Regions from separate parts of the Homo sapiens genome. Here region 2 is linked to region 1. The links are contacts of gene promoters, found by promoter capture Hi-C in blood cells and fetal thymus (Javierre and others, 2016). All regions are on one chromosome and are shown on one strand. The core of a region is centred on a gene start or on the middle of the fragment in contact, and the rest is flanking DNA. Distances in the headings are between cores, read along the strand shown. Region 1 holds the start of EEF1A1 (eukaryotic translation elongation factor 1 alpha 1). Region 2 holds the start of IBTK (inhibitor of Bruton tyrosine kinase).

Region 1 (5,969 bases), core at 3,412-5,911:
TTAGGAGGCCGAGGCGATCACCTAAGGTCAGGAGTTTGAGACCAGCCTGACCAACATGGAAAAACCTCATCTCTATTAAAAACACCAAATTAGCACATGCCTGTAATCCCAGCTACTTGGGAGGCTGAAGTAGGAGAATTGCTTGAACCCAGGAGGAGGAGATTGCAGTGAGATTTTGCCATTGCATTCTAGCCTGGGCAACAAGAACTCCATCTTAAAAAAAATTTTTAAAAACCATCACACAAACAGAAAGCATGTCCTTTAATTTTACCTATCCTTCAAACTTAAGCAAAAATTTTCCTTTTATAACCAAAAAAAAACCTTTAGACACTTTTACATATGGGAGGTCAGGCACAGTGGCTCATGCCTGTAATCCCAGCAGGAAGATCGCGAAAAGCATTTTTCAAATGCACAAATGCTTAAAGATTCAGGAGTAAGTGGGCTATTACACCTGTTAAGCCTATTACCATGTAGTTTCATTCCTAGTGACCAAGTAGACAAACTGCTAATTATCAAAGCATAAAAGGTATTAGACTCTGCAGGAGAAAAGCAATGTAGATTAGTCTAATTTTATAGCTACTTCAAATTGCCATCTTTTTCTATTAGAACCTTGTTCCTATTCTGAATAGCACTCAATAGAACTTGTGAAACCATCAAACTGGCATAAAGCTTACTCCACTGACTTCAAAATGGACCCTTCCACTCATAGGGTGTACACTAGCCACTACACTTATTTCTTATGTCATGGCAAATAGTCAACTTTCACTGCCCAGTCATTTTAACCCACGTTTCAACATGCACATCCCAGTAATTTGGAAACATTTTGTTTCCAAAGATTCACTTAACATTGGTTTAGCAACATGAAGCTTTCTATGCAACACAAGGACTCAGTTTTTGGCCTGTTTTAGTGACAGGCAATCAGCAACATGCTGCATTTCTCTCCAGTGTTGTAATCAAAGCAACCCTCCCATAGCTTTAAATGATATTCCTTCCCCTTCCAATTATGTGGGGGGAAAACAACCCTATTCTCCACCCAGAAGTGTTAACTCAAGAATTACATTTTCAAGAAGTTTCCAGATTCGTAAAACCAGAATTAGATGTCTTTCACCTAAATGTCTCGGTGTTGACCAAAGGAACACACAGGTTTCTCATTTAACTTTTTTAATGGGTCTCAAAATTCTGTGACAAATTTTTGGTCAAGTTGTTTCCATTAAAAAGTACTGATTTTAAAAACTAATAACTTAAAACTGCCACACGCAAAAAAGAAAACCAAAGTGGTCCACAAAACATTCTCCTTTCCTTCTGAAGGTTTTACGATGCATTGTTATCATTAACCAGTCTTTTACTACTAAACTTAAATGGCCAATTGAAACAAACAGTTCTGAGACCGTTCTTCCACCACTGATTAAGAGTGGGGTGGCAGGTATTAGGGATAATATTCATTTAGCCTTCTGAGCTTTCTGGGCAGACTTGGTGACCTTGCCAGCTCCAGCAGCCTTCTTGTCCACTGCTTTGATGACACCCACCGCAACTGTCTGTCTCATATCACGAACAGCAAAGCGACCTATTAAAAAAAAAGTTAATTATTACCCAAAGTACTGTTCAGTTGTATTTTTCATCTTTAACACAACTTTTTTACATTTAAGTAGTCATCCTTACCCAAAGGTGGATAGTCTGAGAAGCTCTCAACACACATGGGCTTGCCAGGAACCATATCAACAATGGCAGCATCACCAGACTTCAAGAATTTAGGGCCATCTTCCAGCTTTTTACCAGAACGGCGATCAATCTTTTCCTTCAGCTCAGCAAACTTGCATGCAATGTGAGCCGTGTGGCAATCCAATACAGGGGCATAGCCGGCGCTTATTTGGCCTGGATGGTTCAGGATAATCACCTTGGAAAAAAGATTTGCATTCAGTGCAAATCCAAAGTCTCAAATGACTTTAGCCTCTGCAATAAGTTAATGTTACTTTAAATTGTTACCTGAGCAGTGAAGCCAGCTGCTTCCATTGGTGGGTCATTTTTGCTGTCACCAGCAACGTTGCCACGACGAACATCCTTGACAGACACATTCTTGACATTGAAGCCCACATTGTCCCCAGGAAGAGCTTCACTCAAAGCTTCATGGTGCATTTCGACAGATTTTACTTCCGTTGTAACGTTGACTGGAGCAAAGGTGACCACCATACCGGGTTTGAGAACACCAGTCTCCACTCGGCCAACAGGAACAGTACCAATACCTAAAAATATTTACAGCATACTAAATACCTATGAAGGCAGACAGTACTCTATCAACTCAAATTCAACTTTGTTTACAGCCAACTTACCACCAATTTTGTAGACATCCTGGAGAGGCAGGCGCAAGGGCTTGTCAGTTGGACGAGTTGGTGGTAGGATGCAGTCCAGAGCCTCAAGCAGCGTGGTTCCACTGGCATTGCCATCCTTACGGGTGACTTTCCATCCCTTGAACCAAGGCATCTGAAACACAAGCATGCCAATTTGTGTAAGCATGAAATCGCCATTCCCAGAGCTTTTTAACAATGGTCTTGAAAGCCACTTACGTTAGCACTTGGCTCCAGCATGTTGTCACCATTCCAACCAGAAATTGGCACAAATGCTACTGTGTCGGGGTTGTAGCCAATTTTCTTAATGTAAGTGCTGACTTCCTTAACAATTTCCTCATATCTCTTCTGGCTGTAGGGTGGCTCAGTGGAATCCATTTTGTTAACACCGACAATTAGTTGTTTCACACCCAGTGTGTAAGCCAGAAGGGCATGCTCTCGGGTCTGCCCATTCTTGGAGATACCAGCTTCAAATTCACCAACACCAGCAGCAACAATCAGGACAGCACAGTCAGCCTTTAAAGAAAGCAAAGACATATCCCTGTCAACTCTCCAAATGACAAAACCAGTGTACAAAGCAAGCCTTTTGGGATAAAGAAACCTAGAATTATTAATCCCACCAACCTGAGATGTCCCTGTAATCATGTTTTTGATAAAGTCTCTGTGTCCTGGGGCATCAATGATAGTCACATAGTACTTGCTGGTCTCAAATTTCCACAAGGAGATATCAATGGTGATACCACGTTCACGCTCAGCTTTCAGTTTATCCAAGACCCAGGCATACTTGAAGGAGCCCTTTCCCATCTGTAAGGATTAAGAGTCGTTACTTGGTTACTAAAACACAAACTCCAGCTTCAATTTCCTTGTCCCCAGCCCTTAATTGGCAGTTTCCACTTTACAACTCCAAGTCCAAAGTGATTTTAGTCACTTTGGGTTACAGAAGCAACCAAAAATCAAACTTTTATAAGTCGGATCTTAACTATTAACATCCAAATCTACTCACTAGCAATACGATTACAGAAGTCACCAAAAGCAAAATTATTTCATAAGTAAGGTCTTAACTATTAGCATTCAGATCTAAACCACTCACTAGTTCTGGGGAAATCACCTAATGATTCTGCTGGTAAAACTCATTTTAGTTGATCTTTCCCTTTCTGGTATTAAACATACCTCAGCAGCCTCCTTCTCAAATTTTTCAATGGTTCTTTTGTCGATGCCACCGCATTTATAGATCAGATGGCCAGTAGTGGTGGACTTGCCCGAATCTACGTGTCCAATGACGACAATGTTGATATGAGTCTTTTCCTTTCCCATTTTGGCTTTTAGGGGTAGTTTTCACGACACCTGAAATGGAAGAAAAAAACTTTGAACCACTGTCTGAGGCTTGAGAATGAACCAAGATCCAAACTCAAAAAGGGCAAATTCCAAGGAGAATTACATCAAGTGCCAAGCTGGCCTAACTTCAGTCTCCACCCACTCAGTGTGGGGAAACTCCATCGCATAAAACCCCTCCCCCCAACCTAAAGACGACGTACTCCAAAAGCTCGAGAACTAATCGAGGTGCCTGGACGGCGCCCGGTACTCCGTGGAGTCACATGAAGCGACGGCTGAGGACGGAAAGGCCCTTTTCCTTTGTGTGGGTGACTCACCCGCCCGCTCTCCCGAGCGCCGCGTCCTCCATTTTGAGCTCCCTGCAGCAGGGCCGGGAAGCGGCCATCTTTCCGCTCACGCAACTGGTGCCGACCGGGCCAGCCTTGCCGCCCAGGGCGGGGCGATACACGGCGGCGCGAGGCCAGGCACCAGAGCAGGCCGGCCAGCTTGAGACTACCCCCGTCCGATTCTCGGTGGCCGCGCTCGCAGGCCCCGCCTCGCCGAACATGTGCGCTGGGACGCACGGGCCCCGTCGCCGCCCGCGGCCCCAAAAACCGAAATACCAGTGTGCAGATCTTGGCCCGCATTTACAAGACTATCTTGCCAGAAAAAAAGCGTCGCAGCAGGTCATCAAAAATTTTAAATGGCTAGAGACTTATCGAAAGCAGCGAGACAGGCGCGAAGGTGCCACCAGATTCGCACGCGGCGGCCCCAGCGCCCAAGCCAGGCCTCAACTCAAGCACGAGGCGAAGGGGCTCCTTAAGCGCAAGGCCTCGAACTCTCCCACCCACTTCCAACCCGAAGCTCGGGATCAAGAATCACGTACTGCAGCCAGGGGCGTGGAAGTAATTCAAGGCACGCAAGGGCCATAACCCGTAAAGAGGCCAGGCCCGCGGGAACCACACACGGCACTTACCTGTGTTCTGGCGGCAAACCCGTTGCGAAAAAGAACGTTCACGGCGACTACTGCACTTATATACGGTTCTCCCCCACCCTCGGGAAAAAGGCGGAGCCAGTACACGACATCACTTTCCCAGTTTACCCCGCGCCACCTTCTCTAGGCACCGGTTCAATTGCCGACCCCTCCCCCCAACTTCTCGGGGACTGTGGGCGATGTGCGCTCTGCCCACTGACGGGCACCGGAGCCTCACGCATGCTCTTCTCCACCTCAGTGATGACGAGAGCGGGCGGGTGAGGGGGCGGGAACGCAGCGATCTCTGGGTTCTACGTTAGTGGGAGTTTAACGACGGTCCCTGGGATTCCCCAAGGCAGGGGCGAGTCCTTTTGTATGAATTACTCTCAGCTCCGGTCGGGGCGGGTTGGGGGGGGTGGTGACGGGGAGGCCGCCTGGAAGGGACGTGCAGAATCTTCCCTCTACCATTGCTGGCTTAGCTCCAAAGGTTGTATTGAGATTAGGGTGTACCTTCGCCTCTCAATCAGCCTCCCGTCCTCAGCCTTGCCATCTCGCTAGTCCGGGACAAATCCCTAGAGCGTCTTCCTCTGCGGGTCTCAGCCCAGCCCGGGGTTGGCTCCTCCTCCGCCCCGGCTTCCGCGCCCCTCCCGTGTGGCAAGGAGTACCAGGCCCGGGGACCCCGAGGGGCTTGGGGCGAAGGGTCGGGACTGGGGGCCTCCTTAACGGCTCACGGACTTGCGAGAGGTTCGGCTCGATGGCCGTGAAAGCGACGAATCCGCTCCTGTGCTGGCCTCTTGGCTCCTTCCATTCAAAGCCAGCTGCTTTTATGGAAGCCCGTAACACGTCATCTCCCCCTGGTACTCCAGATGTCCAGGCTTTCAGTTTAGAATAGACTCAGTCCTACAGTTAGCTTTAGATCTAATTCTAGTTTTGTTACGCCAAAAAGTTCCTGCGAGTGTGTGTGTGTGCCTCATGGTACTTTTTAAATTAAAAGGTGTACAGTTATTTGATTGCAAACATAAGGAACCTAAAATGCTTTCAGATTTTCCACATGATCTCATGTAGAGGCTAAGATCTACAGCATCAGCAAGTTTATCCACCCAGTTTCCTAACCCCAACACTTGCTATGAAGTCACAGCTTCTCCTATTTAAATAAGTGCCTATTATATTTAAATAAGTGCTGTCGTTTTCTGTCATCCTATCGATTGTAACTGCATTTTAGCATAAATCTAGGGCAAGATTGGATGAGCTTGGCCTTTTTGGATGGCTATCAAGGCAGGCCTTGGGAAATGCTCCTCTGAGGAAAGAAGAACGTTTATTTTTAATGAGCTAATTACTAGATC
Region 2 (6,179 bases), core at 3,680-6,179, 8.7 Mb after region 1:
TAATCCCAGCTACTTGGGAGGCTGAGGCAGGAGAAATGCTTGAACCCAGGAGGTGGAGGCTGCAGTGAGCCGAGATCCCGCCACCGCACTCCAGTCTGGTGACAAAGCAAGACTCTGTCTCAAAAACAAAACAAAACAAAACAAAAGACGGGCACGGTGGCTCATGCCTGTAAACCCAGCACTTTGGGAGGCCAAGGCAGGCGAATCACGAGGTCAGGAGATCAAGACCATCCTGGCTAACACGGTGAAACCTCGTCTCTACTAAAAATACAAAAAATTAGCCGGGTGTGGTGGCGGGCGCCTGTAGTCCCAGCTACTTGGGAGGCTGAGGCAGGAGAATGGCGTGAACCTGGGAGGCGGAGCTTGCAGTGAGCCGAGATCGTGCCACTGCACTCCAGCCTGGGCGACAGAGAGACTCTGTCTCAAAAAAAAAAAAAAAAAGTGTTTGGTAGCAAAGAGAAAAAAAGGTACCAATCGTCAAGTACTTTAAAAGGTTAAAAATGGAAAGCATGACACAGTAGTTCCCCATTATCCATTTGCTTTCTATGGTTTCTATTACCCACAATCAACCATAGTCCAAAAATATTAAATGAAAATTTTGGAAATAAACAATTTATGTTTTAAATTGCATACTATTCTGAGCAGTATGATGAAATCTCATAGTGTCCCACTCCAAACCACTCCACCTCACCTGAGACATGAATCATACATTTGTCCAGCATTGCCATACTGTACATGCTACCAACTCGATAGTCACTGAGTAGCCCTCTTGGTTAGCAAATTGTAAAAACATAGCATATATAGGGTTCAGTACTCTCTGCAGTTTCAGGCATCCACTGGGGGTTTTAGAATGTGTCCTTGGATAAGTAGGGACTATTTATTGTATGTGGCAAAATAGTTCATCCAGTTAATTTCATTCTTTTAAAGCTCTAAAATCCCACCATGTTTGTATTTTCATTGTATGCATAATACCTGGAAGGAACTACTTACTGGTGAATCACTCAAACCTTACATTAAAGAATTAAGATACAACAGAAAAGAATTCCCTAATTCATTAGTATATATAATGTAAACATTTAAAGGGGGGAAAAAAGAATGTTAAAAAGTCATTCCATACTATCATATAGAGAAAGCGGCACCTACAGAATACTATGAACATAAACATGGAAGCGATTAAGAGCTAGGATTTCTTAGAGTTTTACATACATAGATTCAAATATAGCAATGTCAGCTGTTATCAGTTATATAACTAAAAAATGACATAATCTCTCCAAGTCGTTTCTTCATCTGAAAATAGAAACAATCCATGGACTTCACATGGTTACTATAATGATAAATGAAACTACCTAACATGGTACCTGGCACTAAATATGCATTCGACAAATAATAGTTTTCATTACTATTGTTTCTTCAGTCATAAAAAGGTAATACATTTTAACTCCAAAATTCATGTTTGAGCTTCATTATCACTTGTTACCACTTCTCCAAAGAAATCATTATTGCTAAAGTTACTAATGACTTCCAAATTACCAAACACTTTTAGATATTTTCAATTCTTACTTGCCTTCCCTGCTTTTATGTCTTTAAAACCTCATTCCCTTAAGGAGTCTAAAAGAGATCCAGGAAGGGCAGGAAGTCGCAGAAACATTTAAGCATGGGCTCTCTCTCTTAACCACTTCTTCCTAGGGCATTATCGCTTCCCCTGTCCTTCAAACTGGGCTTCTCTGAAATAATCCTCAGTCCTCTACTTCATATTGTTCCTGATAGTTTCAATCCTTTTCATGCTTTTAACTCTACCGTACACATGATTATAAATCCCCAAATCTGTCTCTTGCTCACATATTTGCCCTAAACTCCAGGCCCATATTTCCAATGCCTATTGTACTTCTTATCTATGCATTCAAAAACTGCTTAAAGAAGGGGAAGAAAGCAAAGGAAATAAGCATTTAAAGACCTAATACATACGGAATGCTTTACATCAGACCAGTCAAGTAAACCACCTAAATCATACCACCAAGAAAAGAGGGAGTCAGACTTCAAATACAGATCTGTTTAATGATGAGGTCCGTGCTATTTCTGCTACGTTACACTGTCTTCTTCAGCGCATCCATAGTAGGTCACAAGGCATTGGGAATACAAAAATAATTAGGACCTAAATATTTTAGATAAAATAAAATACAGGTTCATGGATAATACTCAGGTGGATGCATAGCTAGTTTAACATATGTACTAACTGAACAAAACTTATGATCTATTACACAGTTCCTATTATCAAAGGGTCACAGTTTGGTAGAAGAGAGTAATTTTATTTAGGCAAGTAACTAAAACATATCATAATTATAAACCTATGGTCAAGATAAAACAAGTGACACATAGGAACGGGGAGTGCAGAAGAGGGGTCCAGGTAAGACTTTCTACAGGAGATAAACTATGTATAAACTAAGACTTAAAAGATGAGTACTGGCCAGGCACAGTGGCTCATGCCTGTAGTCCCAACACTTTGTTAGGCTGAGGCAGGCAAATCACTTGAGCCCAGGACTTTGAAATCAGCCTGGGCAACATGGTGAAAGCCATCGCTACAAAAAAAAATACAAAAATTAGGCGTAGTGGCACATCCCTGTAGTCCCAACTACTCTGGAGGCTGAGGTGGGAGGATCACTTAAAACTGGTCAGTCAAGGCTGCAGAGAGCCAAGATCATGCAACTGCACTCCAGCCTGAGCGACTGAGCGAGACTCCTTCTAAAAAAAAAAAGAGTACCATATGTGTTGGCCTGATAAATTCTGGGTGAGAGCACATTTGAAGCAGAAGGGATAGTAAATATAAAAGAACTAGAATCATCTTGGTCCATTCCAAAATTTCTAAATAATTCAGAAGACAGAAAGAAGTGAGGCCTAACATACACACAAGGATAGACAGGATTTTGAACAGCCTTATGTGCCTTTTCTTAGAGATTTAAAAAAAAAAGGGCAGGCAATCCAAAGACATACTTAGGATCTTGAATTGACAAGATGTGGTGGTAATTCCCAGGTTTCTGGCTTGGAGAACAGATAGGGAAACTAGAAAGAAGAGTAAGGGGTCAATACTTTGGAAGTGAGTAAAGCAAAACAAAATTAAACAACGGAAAAAACACACAAAAATTATAGGTGAAATTTTGTTTTATACATTATACACAGTGCTCTACATAAATATAATCCTTATTATTGCCCCTGTAAATATGATCACTTTCATTTTCTGATGAGGAGATTCATGTGAAAGTTTAAAAAGCCTACCTAAAATAATACCGACAGAAAAGTGCTCTTGATCCCACCTATTCTATGCTACCAAACTGCTCTCCCAAAAGGCAGTTAGAAAAATTTCAATGCAAGTAGTATAGTGTAGTAGAAAAAAGTACCATGGAATTCAATTCAAAATAATTGAATTCAAAAGCAGTTTGGTAGGGCAGCTGGAGACTCAAGCGATTCTGCCTCAGCCTCCCGAGTAGCTGGGATTACAGGCACACATCACCATGCCTGGCTGATTTTTTTGTATTTTTGGTAGAGACGGGGTTTCACCAAGTTGGCCTCGAACTCCTGACCTCAAGTGATCCGCCCACCTTGGCCTCCCAGACTGCTGGGATTACAGGCATCTTTTTTTTTTTTTTTTTTTTTGAGATGGTGCCACACTCAGTCGCCCAGGATGGAGTGCAGCGGCGCGATCTCGGCTCACTGCAACCTCCACCTCCCGGGTTCAAGCAATTCTCAGCCTCCCCAGTAGCTGGGATTACAGGCGTGAGCCACCGCGCCCGGCCTAAAAAATTTCTTGAAGTAAACTCTGGTTTGACTAAAGCTTCTGCAAATATTTGCAAATGTAATTATTTTTAGAAACCAGTTTTGTCCTCATCTACCTTGCCTCAATTTCTAAAACAAATAAAAGTTAAGGAATTCAAAATACAAAAAGAGAAATGATCAAGAGGGGGCTGGCAAGCCTGTGAATTTACACCACTTTATGGGCACTGAAACACTACTACTCATAAAAGTCATATCCTTTCAGTATTTCTGATAAATTTCAAATGGCCTACTTCGAGGCATAAGTTAAAAGGTGCTACATGAATCTCTGGCTAACACAGTCAAGTTTTATGAACTACGTTGGAAAACAGGAGTCAAGGACGGCCTATGTTACCTAATTCGCAGCTGAACTAAAACTCTTTGAGCCAGACAGCTCTGCCTGTTACAAAAACAAAGGGCCTGTCTTCTCTGTCTCTCTCAACCCTCCACCCTCCAAAAAGAATCAGTTCCTTTTTACATAGCAATCAATGTCCACTTATCAGATTTCACGACCTGCTTCCCCAGAGTCAGTATCCCCAGGGTGGACTCAAACTTGTGACTCCAGGAAGGGGATAAGGAACATGAGCGCCCACAGGAATGGCTTCAAATCCAAGACTCGAAGGAAAGTGACACTACATAACTATCACAACTAGGAATGCAATGTCGCTGGAGGGCGTGTCCAGCAGGACGGGAGCGTAGCGCATCGCCGGGACAGGCCATTCATTAGCTGAGGGGGGCGGTAGGGACCCTGGCCACTCGGCCCTCTCCGCGCCGCCTCGCGCGAAGCCCGGCAGCCTCGGGGCCACAGAGTCCCCTCCCCACGGTCCCCCCGCGCCGCCGTCCGCAGCCACCCGCACCCTCCAGAAGGCGAATACTCTCCCCCTGCCCCCGGGCTGAAGGGAAGCCGCACCGCACGGTCGGGCAGCGCCAAGCCCTCCCTCACCAGTCGCTAGATGAAACTGCGCCGGTGGATTCCGCAGGGTCCACATAGAGCCACAAAGGGACTCATCCTCAGTGAAGGCAATAAGAGAAACCGAACGGCGCCAGAGGGGCCAGTCCCCAGACCCGGGTCAGTTCGGCAGGCGGCTGCAATACAGCCGCTACTACAGGAATCGGGAACGGGGATGTAGAGGAAGGGCCCGAGCGGGCGGTTCCCAGTAATAAGGCGGGCGCTGGTTGGCTGGGGCTCCTGTATGTCTCTTGATGATTGGCTGGTGCCTGCCCAGAAGGTTTCGCGTGGCAGCACCTCTGCCATGGCCTTTTCCCTGGCGCCCCAAAGGAACTTGACCTCGCCGGCCTTGGGGCCGCTGACTCAGGCCAGGGGCGGGGAAAAGAAAAAGGCCGCAGCGGGGAACTCTAGGCCAACAACGGTGATGGGAGTGTCCCTTTCAGGCCAGCCATCTCGTAGTTAGAAACGTCTCTCTAGGTAGCTGGAGACTCGCGGGGGAGGCTAAACCCGAGTGGAGAAGGAGACCTGGCAGGATGCCTTGGACACCCGGTCGCTACGCAGCAGAAGCCAAGTGCATAGGCGTCCTGCACAGAAGAGTTTCCTCCCATGGCCTTAGCAGTGGGGTTACTGCAAAGCCAAAGGTGTAGTCTCCGTAAACCCAGCCTCACCCCTCTCTGGATCTCCATACACCCGGATTATCTGGCAGTCACTCCCTTGGTCAGAAGGCGTCACTGCCCTCTTAGATCACCACCGTAGGACTAGCTGCCGACCCGGGTCACGCCACTCACTGCCTGACACCAGGCTTACACTAGGCTTTTTCCACTTGAACTCTGAATCTAAAGGCCATTTAGAAAGTGGTCAAGTGAAAAATGCTAGGAGGGACAGTAGCCAATAATCAATACTAGGTTACTGAATGGGAAACACACTGCTGCTGAATGCCTAATACGGTAAGCACTCAGTAAATGATTGTTCAAGGAGGTGTAGTGTGACTCAAAACAAACGACACTAAGAATCATGAGTTGGCTGTACAGCTCTGCCACGTTGAGTTTTACAAGCCACTGAGTCGACCTCATCTAATCTCTAAAAGAAAGGAGTTGCGCATGTCTTAATGCCCACTGAGCTCTGCTTGCTCTCTTTTGAAGCCTTTTTTGTGGGAGGGTAGGTTACTAGCCCAAAGCCACACAGCTGCTTAGCGAAAGAGAAAGGGAGACTAGGACCCAGCCCTCCTACTGCCCTTCCCAGCACATAATTGTTTCTTTGCTCTTTATTCTTAATGTCCTTCTACAAAACAAAAACCAGTTTGTAATGTCAAAATTGAGTGGTTTTGAAAATAAGCTTAAGTTGGCCGGGCGCGGTGGCTCACGCCTGTAATCCCAGCAATGTGGGAGGCCGAGGCGGGCGGATCACGAGGTCAGGAGATCGAGAC

The links. The method cuts DNA at HindIII sites, captures the fragments that hold promoters and counts their contacts. A CHiCAGO score of 5 or more calls a contact.
Region 2: a contact is called between the fragment with the promoter of IBTK here and the fragment with the promoter of EEF1A1 in region 1, in 2 of 17 cell types (total CD4 T cells and total CD8 T cells). The highest score is 7.4, in total CD4 T cells.

What each region holds. Positions count from the first base shown.
Region 1 is chr6:73,516,371-73,522,339 of GRCh38, forward strand. It overlaps EEF1A1 (eukaryotic translation elongation factor 1 alpha 1), which reads right to left and starts at 4,662. Exons shown (of 8, transcript NM_001402.6): 1 at 4,630-4,662; 2 at 3,513-3,686; 3 at 2,967-3,146; 4 at 2,562-2,858; 5 at 2,328-2,478; 6 at 1,984-2,240; 7 at 1,660-1,894; 8 at 1-1,564. The coding sequence starts at 3,656. The coding sequence ends at 1,440. RefSeq lists enhancers at 3,000-3,822, 3,780-4,079, 3,823-4,644, 4,370-4,479, 4,530-4,609 and 1 more and a silencer at 5,190-5,419. The HindIII fragment of the contact is 5,848 bases long and covers 2,119-5,969 here.
Region 2 is chr6:82,242,815-82,248,993 of GRCh38, forward strand. It overlaps IBTK (inhibitor of Bruton tyrosine kinase), which reads right to left and starts at 4,930. Exons shown (of 29, transcript NM_015525.4): 1 at 4,748-4,930. RefSeq lists a silencer at 4,563-4,732. The HindIII fragment of the contact is 2,262 bases long and covers 3,825-6,086 here.